Regions from separate parts of the Homo sapiens genome. Here all the other regions are linked to region 2. The links are contacts of gene promoters, found by promoter capture Hi-C in human tissues and cell types (Jung and others, 2019). All regions are on one chromosome and are shown on one strand. Each heading gives the region's core, a stretch centred on a gene start or on the middle of the fragment in contact. The rest is flanking DNA. Distances are from core to core; before and after follow the strand shown.

Region 1 (2,700 bases), core at 99-2,598, 340 kb after region 2:
TGCAGAATAGAAGAATTTATGAAGTTGTAAATACCATACGTATACTACACATGATACAGTTGCCAGTCTCCAAACAGAGAGAACATAGGTAAGAAGTGATTTGCATTTGTAGGTGATACCTGACACTTTCACAGAACACAGAACAGACCCTTAACTCTGCTATTCCTGCTTCCAAAAAAGAAGCCAAATGATACTGGTTAAGACCTGGAGCATTATTTGCACCTGTATGAATCATTGAGCCGTGCATGTCTCTCTGCCGCCAAGGTGCGGATCTGCTCCCAGTTTGTAATCAGTTCCTCTCGCTTCACTTGAATCTGTGTTGCACTCAGAGGGTGGGACTGTTGCAGGCGGTCAGCCTCAGCACACAGGGCTTTGACCTAGAAATGAACTCCGTCAGAACTATTCTCCTGACCCTTGGTAACTTATTTACAGAATCAGCTGCTTGTAAAACCCACCTTGTCTTCTAGAGCAGCAAGATCTCTCTCCAGACCCTCGTGCTTCCGAAGCAGAGCCTGAACACTTGCCAGGTCTCGGCCAAAATCATCAGAGGCCATTAACTGCTCCTTTTCCTTAATCCAACTGATAGTCTCATCCACATCCCTACAGAACAAAGGCACCAGTTAATCCACAGCAATGATGACTCCCTAGAACTAGGAACACCCCATGGGACCAAGGCCTAGTCAGCCTCGACAGCTCACCAGCACATGCCCTGTGCTTCACAACTCCCCTCCAGGTTGAGACCCATTCCCCAAAGCCCACTCTGGCTTGACACCTGTTAAAGCGCTGAACTTCTGCTGCCCCAAAGAGCTTCCCCTGCCTCTGCAGAGCCAGGCCCTTCAGCCGCTGCCAGGCTGCATTGACTTCATCCTGCTTAGTCTTGATCAGTTCCTCCTCAGGGTGCTGCTCCTAAACAAGGAAGAGAAGAGACTGGATTTGTACACAACTTCTGGCTCCTCCAACTAGTTACCCTGGGGTTGGTTCCTTGAAGCATCTCAGCAAATCACCACTCTGAAGAGAATCACAAGAAATAATGGTCAACATGATACAAAGTGAACTACAACTCCAAAGAGTTTCTATTTCTTATGTAAAAAGGGGAGAGCCATTCTCTATCTTTTGGAGTAGTGTGGTTAGTCTATAAGGTGGTTATGTGCAAAAGTGCCAAAAACCTTTATGTTAATAAATAGTTTGGCAACAACTGTGTGGTAACTTTATCAATGTACTCATCTACCCTAACTGCTTGAAAATTTGGTATTTCAGATGTTCATGAGGCTGTTAAGCATTCTTGCACATAAACATAATTTTCGGGGCTCAAGAGTTTGTCCCTGGCTTTAGACTGACGACATTTCTTTTTTTCTTTTTTGAGACAGGGTCTTGCTATGTTACCCAGGCTGGTCTCAAGTGATCCTGTCTTGTCAGCCTGAGTCTGAGTAGAGTAGCTGGGTCTATAGGCAGGTGCCACTGCATCAAGCTTAGAGACATTTCTTTAAAAGTATCCTTCCCTACCAACCACATTTTGGTGTTTTAAAAAATATGATACAAAGTAATAAAATGAAGCATTTCAGGGTTCTTGAATCCATCTGGGATACCATGGGTTTGGCCTGACTACTTTTCTCAAGCTCAACCGCAGGAAAGCTTAGGGTTTGGAAAAGCAACACATCTGTCACTGTGGAAGGGTGAGATATTTCTGAGGAATGCCGGGTATCTTTCTCTTAATCACTGGCCAGAAAATGGAAACAAGTACCAGCCTATAAGCAGATTTATACACTTAAAATTTGTACCCCCCAAATCAAATTTCCCTAAAAGTAAAAACTCTCTGGTTCCGAGTACTTGATGTCTTTGGAACCCTTTGGACTCGTAGTGGAAGCAGCTTACAGGATTGTACACGTGGGCACTGGGGAAGGGTTGTCATTCCCTCTTAATGGGCTCCAGCGCCAGAGTGGAGAGCCTATTCACGACAAGGTTCTCCCAGGCTCCCAAGAGAGCCCAGGGAAGCTTCAAATAAAAAAGGAAGGCAAGAGCCCTAATGCATTGGTGGACATCTGCCAATACTAACTTAGCATTCACCACCACACCCTCGTCTGAGAAACCCTGAGACCTAGCTTCAGCAGTCCAATAAAAGCTTCACCCAGCCCTACCCAAAAGTGGGTAGAGGAAACAGATCAAATGAACTCTGCCCTTCCTGCCCAAGGCAACACATTGAAAAGCATTTTCCAATTTAGGAGTAATCAGTATTGTGCCTCACATCTAAACAAAACTCTCAGACATGCTTACAAAAACTTGCTCACTCAGAAATTAGGGGACCAATCATCAAAATTTTATCCTGAATATACTAAAAAGTTAACATAATAATGTTGTGAGAAGCATACAGCACTTTGCTATTTACCTGTATGAGTTTGGCAGCAAACTGGTTCACTTCATTAACTCTTTCTTCATGAGCAGCCATATCTGTTTGAAACTCTTCAAATTTCTTCTGTAAAACCTCTACATGCTCCAGATCCTGGCCCAGCTCTTCAGAAGTAACAATTGCTTCCTATTCAGGGACCATAAGAGAGCCAGAGTCACCAACCAACATTTGTTAACAATGGCTTCCAGAAACATCAAACAGACACATTAGGGACGGAGCCATGTTAGCTTTAATGGATACAGTTTTGTCTGTGGTTTGTGATTTTAGTTCCTCCCACAGAAAGTTAAGAGGTTGAG
Region 2 (2,700 bases), core at 1-2,500:
CCCGGAGAAAACCCGGTCCCACCACCCAACCCTCCTTCCCTAGACACAGCCAGATCAGCCTGTGACCTCCAGGCTAATCTCCCCCACCCCCACAACTAATCCAGGATTTGCCCTTTCCCATCTCCAAGGATTTTATCTGCTTCCTCTGTGTTTCTTCTGGAAACCACCCCCCACCACTGCTTACCAGGTGCCGGGAAATTATGCTGTGAGAGGGTCAGGCCAAGCAGCTGGGCTGAGTCCCAGTCCAGGCGCCGCCATTCCCTGTGACTCTGAGGAACGCCTGCCTCTCTCTAGGCCTCAATCTGGATAGAATGGGATGCAGGGTTGGTCTGGGGGATGTGCGGCACCCCCCTTCTCCAGGTAATGGGCATTCCAAAGGTGGAAGAGGTCCTGGGGAGAACTATCTGGGCCCCTCCCAGCACCGATCTGAAACCCTCTCGGTCCTGGGAGGATTATGGAAGGGAATTAACGCATCCATCTGCAGCTCAGACGAAAGTAGGAGACATGGGGTATCTTAGTAGGAGGAAGGGGCTGAGGAGAGAGAGATGCTTCCTGTTACCCACCCTCAGGCCCAAGATACTTGGCATCTCAAGTCGGGCTGGCACAGTGGAGCTGGGGTCAGAACAACACCTGCAGGCCGGGTGCGGCGGCTCGGGCCTGTAATCCCAGCACTTTGGAGGCAGAGGCGCGCGGATCACGAGGTCAGGAAATCGAGACCATCCTGGCTAACACGGTGAAACCCCGTCTCTACTAAAAATACAAAAAATTAGCCGGGCGTGGTGGCGGGCACCTGTAGTCCCAGCTGCTCGCGAGGCTGAGGCAGGAGAATGGCGTGAACGCGGGAGGCGGAGCTTGCAGTGAGCCGAGATTGGGCCACTGCACTAGAGCCTGGGCGACAGAGCGAGACTCGGTCTCAAAATAAATAAATAAATAATAAATAAAAATACCAAAAACTAGCCGAGCATGGTGGCAGGTGCCTGTAGTCCCAGTTACTCGGGAGGCTGAGGCAGGAGAATCGCTTGAACCCAGGAGGCGGAGGTTGCAGTGAGCCGAGATCATGCCACGGCACTCACTCCAGCCTGGACGACAGAGTAAGACTCCATCTCAAAAAACAAAAACAAAAACAAAAAGAGAGAATAACACTTGCACACCACCACCCTTCTCAGCTTGCCCTGCTCAGCAGCTGGCAGGGCCACTCGCTGGCTCTGAAAAACCGGCTGCTGCCTTCCCCAAAATGATGCCTTCTGAATGGCGAAGGGACAAAGTGTTTCAGGAGTGTGCATGGGGACACTGCTCAGCCCTCAAGAGCCTTGGCCTCGAGTCAAGTCGTGTTTGCTGGGCCACCGCTCTGGGAGCTGCTGCTTGGTCCAGGCCGTCCGGGGGGCAGGGGGGAGCAGTAAGTGCAGCTCAGGCTCCTGGTTCAGAGGGGTTAGGCTGGGTGAGGGGCAGGCAGATGACAGAACCACGAGGTTCACTAGAGGCAGGATGTGTTCCCAGCTGTCCTTAACCCTTCTGATGCAACTGCCCAACAAAGACAGATGCCTACCATGTGCCAAGAACACTGAGGTCCCCTCGGACTGGGCCAGCCATTCCCCTGGGAGCCCCCACAGAAGGCTTGTAGTAGAGACTCAGTGAAGCAGACTGTGTTTGCGTCCCAGATGTTCAGGCCTTACTTTCCCAGTCTGTAATTTGGGGCTAGCAGTAGGATCCCCTGTGAGCAGTAAATAAGATGAATGCTTCGCAGCTGATAAAGAGCTTGGCACCAGGCCTGGCGCTGAGTAAGTGCCTACCAACTGGTGAACAAGTTGTTCACCAAATGTTAGCAGGGGCTGTTCTGAGTGGAATATTATTTATTTATTTATTTTTTATTTTATTTATTTTTTTTGAGATGGAGTCTCGCTCTGTCACCCAGGCTGGAGTGCAGTGGCGCAATCTCAGCTCACTGCAAGCTCCGCCTCCCGGGTTCACGCCATTCTCCTGCCTCAGCCTCCCCAGTAGCTGGGCCTACAGGCGCCTGCCACCACGCCTGGCTAATTTTTTATATTTTTTAGTAGAGATGGGGTTTCACCGCGTTAGCCAGGATGGTCTCAATCTCCTGACCTTGTGATCTGCCTGCCTCGGCCTCCCAAAGTGCTGGGATTACAGGCGTGAGCCACCGCGCCCAGCTGGGTGGAATATAATTTAAACAATTTTTTTGAGCTTCCAAAATTGCTGTTACAATCAGAGAGAAGACCACCACAGTGGTTTTAGGCAGAGTGGAGAGCCCTGGGTGGGTGGGGGAGGGGGAGGGGAGAGGCCCAGCCTCCCACTAACTGTTCATTCTGCTCAACTTTGGGAAGTGGGTGGGCGGTGTTTCTACATGGTGGTTTTTTCCAAATGTAAACCAGCTCCAGATCGAACTCTCCTGCTCCAGGCGCTGGACAGCCTCAAGGCCAGGGTGGGGGCGGGAGTGGGGTCGGGGGGTGGTGGGAAGGGTACCAAACTGGGGGAGGGACCTCCACCACGGAAACAGAAAAGAAGGCCCCAGCCCGGCAGTCACAGTCCAGCTGCTCAGCCTGTCAGCCCATGGCAGGGGGAGAAGAGGGAGGGAATCTTGGCTCAGGCCTGAGTTCACCTGGAGGGGTCAGAGTCCCCGTGGAGGGAGGAGGGATAGACTCTGTCCAGTTGTAGAGGAGGTGCCCAAGCAGCCACCCAGGCCTC
Region 3 (2,700 bases), core at 134-2,633, 310 kb after region 2:
CCACCGAACACCATGAGCTCATAGCAAGTCTGAGCCAATGTCTACACAGAAAAAGCTGAAGCTGATGTTCCATCTTCAAAAGGAAGCACTCCTTGAAAGAAAATGGTCAATTACTGCCCCGCAAATCAAACACTGTACAGAATTTGCCTAAGTGATAAACTGGGGGAGAGAAGGGGGAGTAAGGCGTTGCAGGCTAATTACAACAGAAAAAGCCACATCCCACAGGGACACTTGAATGGAGTGTAATGGATGATTAGAAATGAAAAGGATGGATGAAGAGACACCAGCAAACCGTGTGACCACAATAATAACAATAATCTACGCAGAGTAACACAAATACTGGAGCTCATTTAACTACAACTCTTAAAAAAATTAAAAACTTACCAGCAGCTTGGAAAGCTACAAAAACAGATTAAAAGAACAAGAGTTCAGTACACTGATGTGGACACACATATCAGCTATTAAATAGAAACTCATTTTGTCATACTTCCCCCAGGAAGCTCAGCATTTGGGAACAGTAATAGAAGGGGGATTCTATAGACTTTTATTACAGCAGAAATAGTTTTAATGGAGACAAATGAGGAAGGCAACTTTTAAATGGCTCTGAAACTTGACTAGGGCTTTCCCACTGGCTGGGCTTACTGAAATATTTCTCACTGACTTCCCATGGGTGCAAGGAGATTGTTTTATAAATGCTTTATTTAACAAAATCTACTCAATAACATAAGGCTACATCAAGACCAACACCCAGTCACTTCAGCTTACCTGGATGTTGGTGGGATCCTTGTACGACTCATCACTCGCTGTTTGCAATTTTTCACTGATCCAAGCCTCAATCTCATCCACATCCCGGCTGAACTGTTGGAGGGTTTGAGATTCTCCTAGCTTTGACCTTTTCTCAATCATCTGGGCTTTCAGACGTCGCCACCTGAAAGAGTGAAACCATGAGATCCAACATGAGCATATCTTACCGTGGAGAAGGAAGTGGGGAGACAGAACAGGCCTGGGCCTTCGTATGAGGGGATGCATCCTCTCAGGGCTGGTGACTATGTCAGTGCCACAGGACACCCACCTGTCCAAGACCTCATTGCGCCGGCTAGAAATGTCTCCCTTGGCATAATGGCCGGCAGCGATGAGCTGGTCGGCAAAGGCCTGCAGAGCAGCAATCTTCTCTTCCTGTCAGAAAACAAAGGCATGAGATCAAGGTGGGCCTGTGGCTGGGCCCTGCCTGGACTGCCAGTCTTGAGAAAAGGATAGTTATTTTGGGTGACTGAGAACTAGCTGGTGGCAGGATCAGAATACACTGACACTTTAGAAGCAAGAGTGTAAAATGCCAAAAGAAAGCTTGATTTCATTCATTACTAGAGTAGAGTTTAACTCAAGAAGTCTCCAGGTCACTCAGGTGGGGCAGGTGTTAGAATATCAGAACAGAACAAAATTAAGCCTGATAATAGGAAAATGCTGTCAGATTTACAGCAAAGTGACGTATAAATCAAACAGTTTTACATCTTCCTTGTTGTTTGTTCATTATTCCCTTACCTACCCACACATTTGTTTTCCATCCCTTTGATAATATTTTTTTTTCCTGTGGCACCCCCATTATTAAAATCTCAGAAATACCAGAATCTATAAAGTTTTAAAGATTATTTATGTACATATTTTTCTTAGACAACGCAGGTATTCCTTGGAGATATAACAGTGACTATATAAGCCAAGAAACAGATGTCAATCAGGAAAAATCCAGACTCCAACTCCATGGTCCAGAGGCCTCACCTGGACGTTAATCGCTTTGTCAAAGTCTTCATGTTTTTTGATCAGAGCCTCTACGCTGTCCAGTGAGTCTCCTTTGTCTTCGGTATTCAAGAAGGCCTCCCGGGCAGCCATCCAGTTCTCAGCTTGCTCACAGTCCCGATGGAACAGCTAAAGAGGGCAAGAGGCAGGTGAGAAAATGAGGCCCTTCAGCAAGGAAACACTTGGTCAGAAACCAGGAGCACACACACCTGCAGTTCAAGGCACTGATCCAGCATCATCCTGCGCTGAACCCAGGCCTTCTCCAGGTCTGCACGCTCCTGGTCAAGAATATCAAGTTTCTGCTTGATCTCAGGGCTGGCATAGTGTCCGTGAGCCAACAGCTGCTGTCCAAACTGCTCAAATGCCTGGAAAGTGCCAGCCCTGGCATCGATTTCTGTCCGGTGTTCCTGCCAAAAGGAGGGAAGGGATTAGGTAACTGGCAGCAGATGCCCACTCTGACGTCAACCACCGACTCACCACAAAGGGTGGGAATGAGGCCTCTAGGGCCCTGCAGAGCAGCCACGTCTTTGCTACTCAGCAGGCAGGTCCACCCACCTGGTGTCGCTCCAGCAATGCCTCAGCTCCGGTGACATCCTTGGCTAGCTCATCTGAGGACACCAACCCCCGTATTCCATTGATCCAAGACATGAGGTCCCTGGAAACCAGCACCCCAGAAAAATAGCTATTATATTACCTGGTAAGGAGATCTTCTGCCCAGGAAAACAGAGAATGACATAATTCTTGCCTCAGAAAGTTATCTTGGGTTAATCTGATCTACTGAATGAGGCTAGGTCTTTGGGCAAAGTGTTAAAAAACTTCTTGTTATTTTTTTAAAAGTCCGAATTTCTCAGAGGAAAAGTCAGTAGGCTTATAATTAAGATCTTTTCACCCTCCAGAATAACAAGTTCT

Evidence for each region. Contacts are between HindIII fragments. The study calls those that stand out against the background at their distance.
Region 1: a fragment that was not itself captured here is called in contact with the fragment with the promoter of PHYHD1 in region 2 in 4 of the 25 tissues and cell types used here (adrenal gland, dorsolateral prefrontal cortex, spleen and 1 more).
Region 3: a fragment that was not itself captured here is called in contact with the fragment with the promoter of PHYHD1 in region 2 in 4 of the 25 tissues and cell types used here (hippocampus, lymphoblastoid cells, pancreas and 1 more).

What each region holds. Positions count from the first base shown.
Region 1 is chr9:128,575,029-128,577,728 of GRCh38, reverse strand. SPTAN1 (spectrin alpha, non-erythrocytic 1) reads right to left here. Exons shown (of 57, transcript NM_001130438.3): 5 at 2,384-2,530; 6 at 773-906; 7 at 456-600; 8 at 223-377. Among named protein-coding and RNA genes, the nearest start is that of SPTAN1, 24 kb to the right of the region's middle. The HindIII fragment of the contact is 4,698 bases long and covers 1-2,700 here.
Region 2 is chr9:128,919,532-128,922,231 of GRCh38, reverse strand. It overlaps PHYHD1 (phytanoyl-CoA dioxygenase domain containing 1), which reads right to left and starts at 1,250. Exons shown (of 13, transcript NM_001100876.2): 1 at 564-1,250; 2 at 185-302. The HindIII fragment of the contact is 13,888 bases long and covers 1-2,700 here.
Region 3 is chr9:128,607,350-128,610,049 of GRCh38, reverse strand. It overlaps SPTAN1 (spectrin alpha, non-erythrocytic 1), which reads right to left. Exons shown (of 57, transcript NM_001130438.3): 32 at 2,347-2,446; 33 at 2,001-2,198; 34 at 1,774-1,920; 35 at 1,073-1,176; 36 at 766-928; 37 at 385-399. Among named protein-coding and RNA genes, the nearest start is that of DYNC2I2, 48 kb to the left of the region's middle. The HindIII fragment of the contact is 5,536 bases long and covers 1-2,700 here.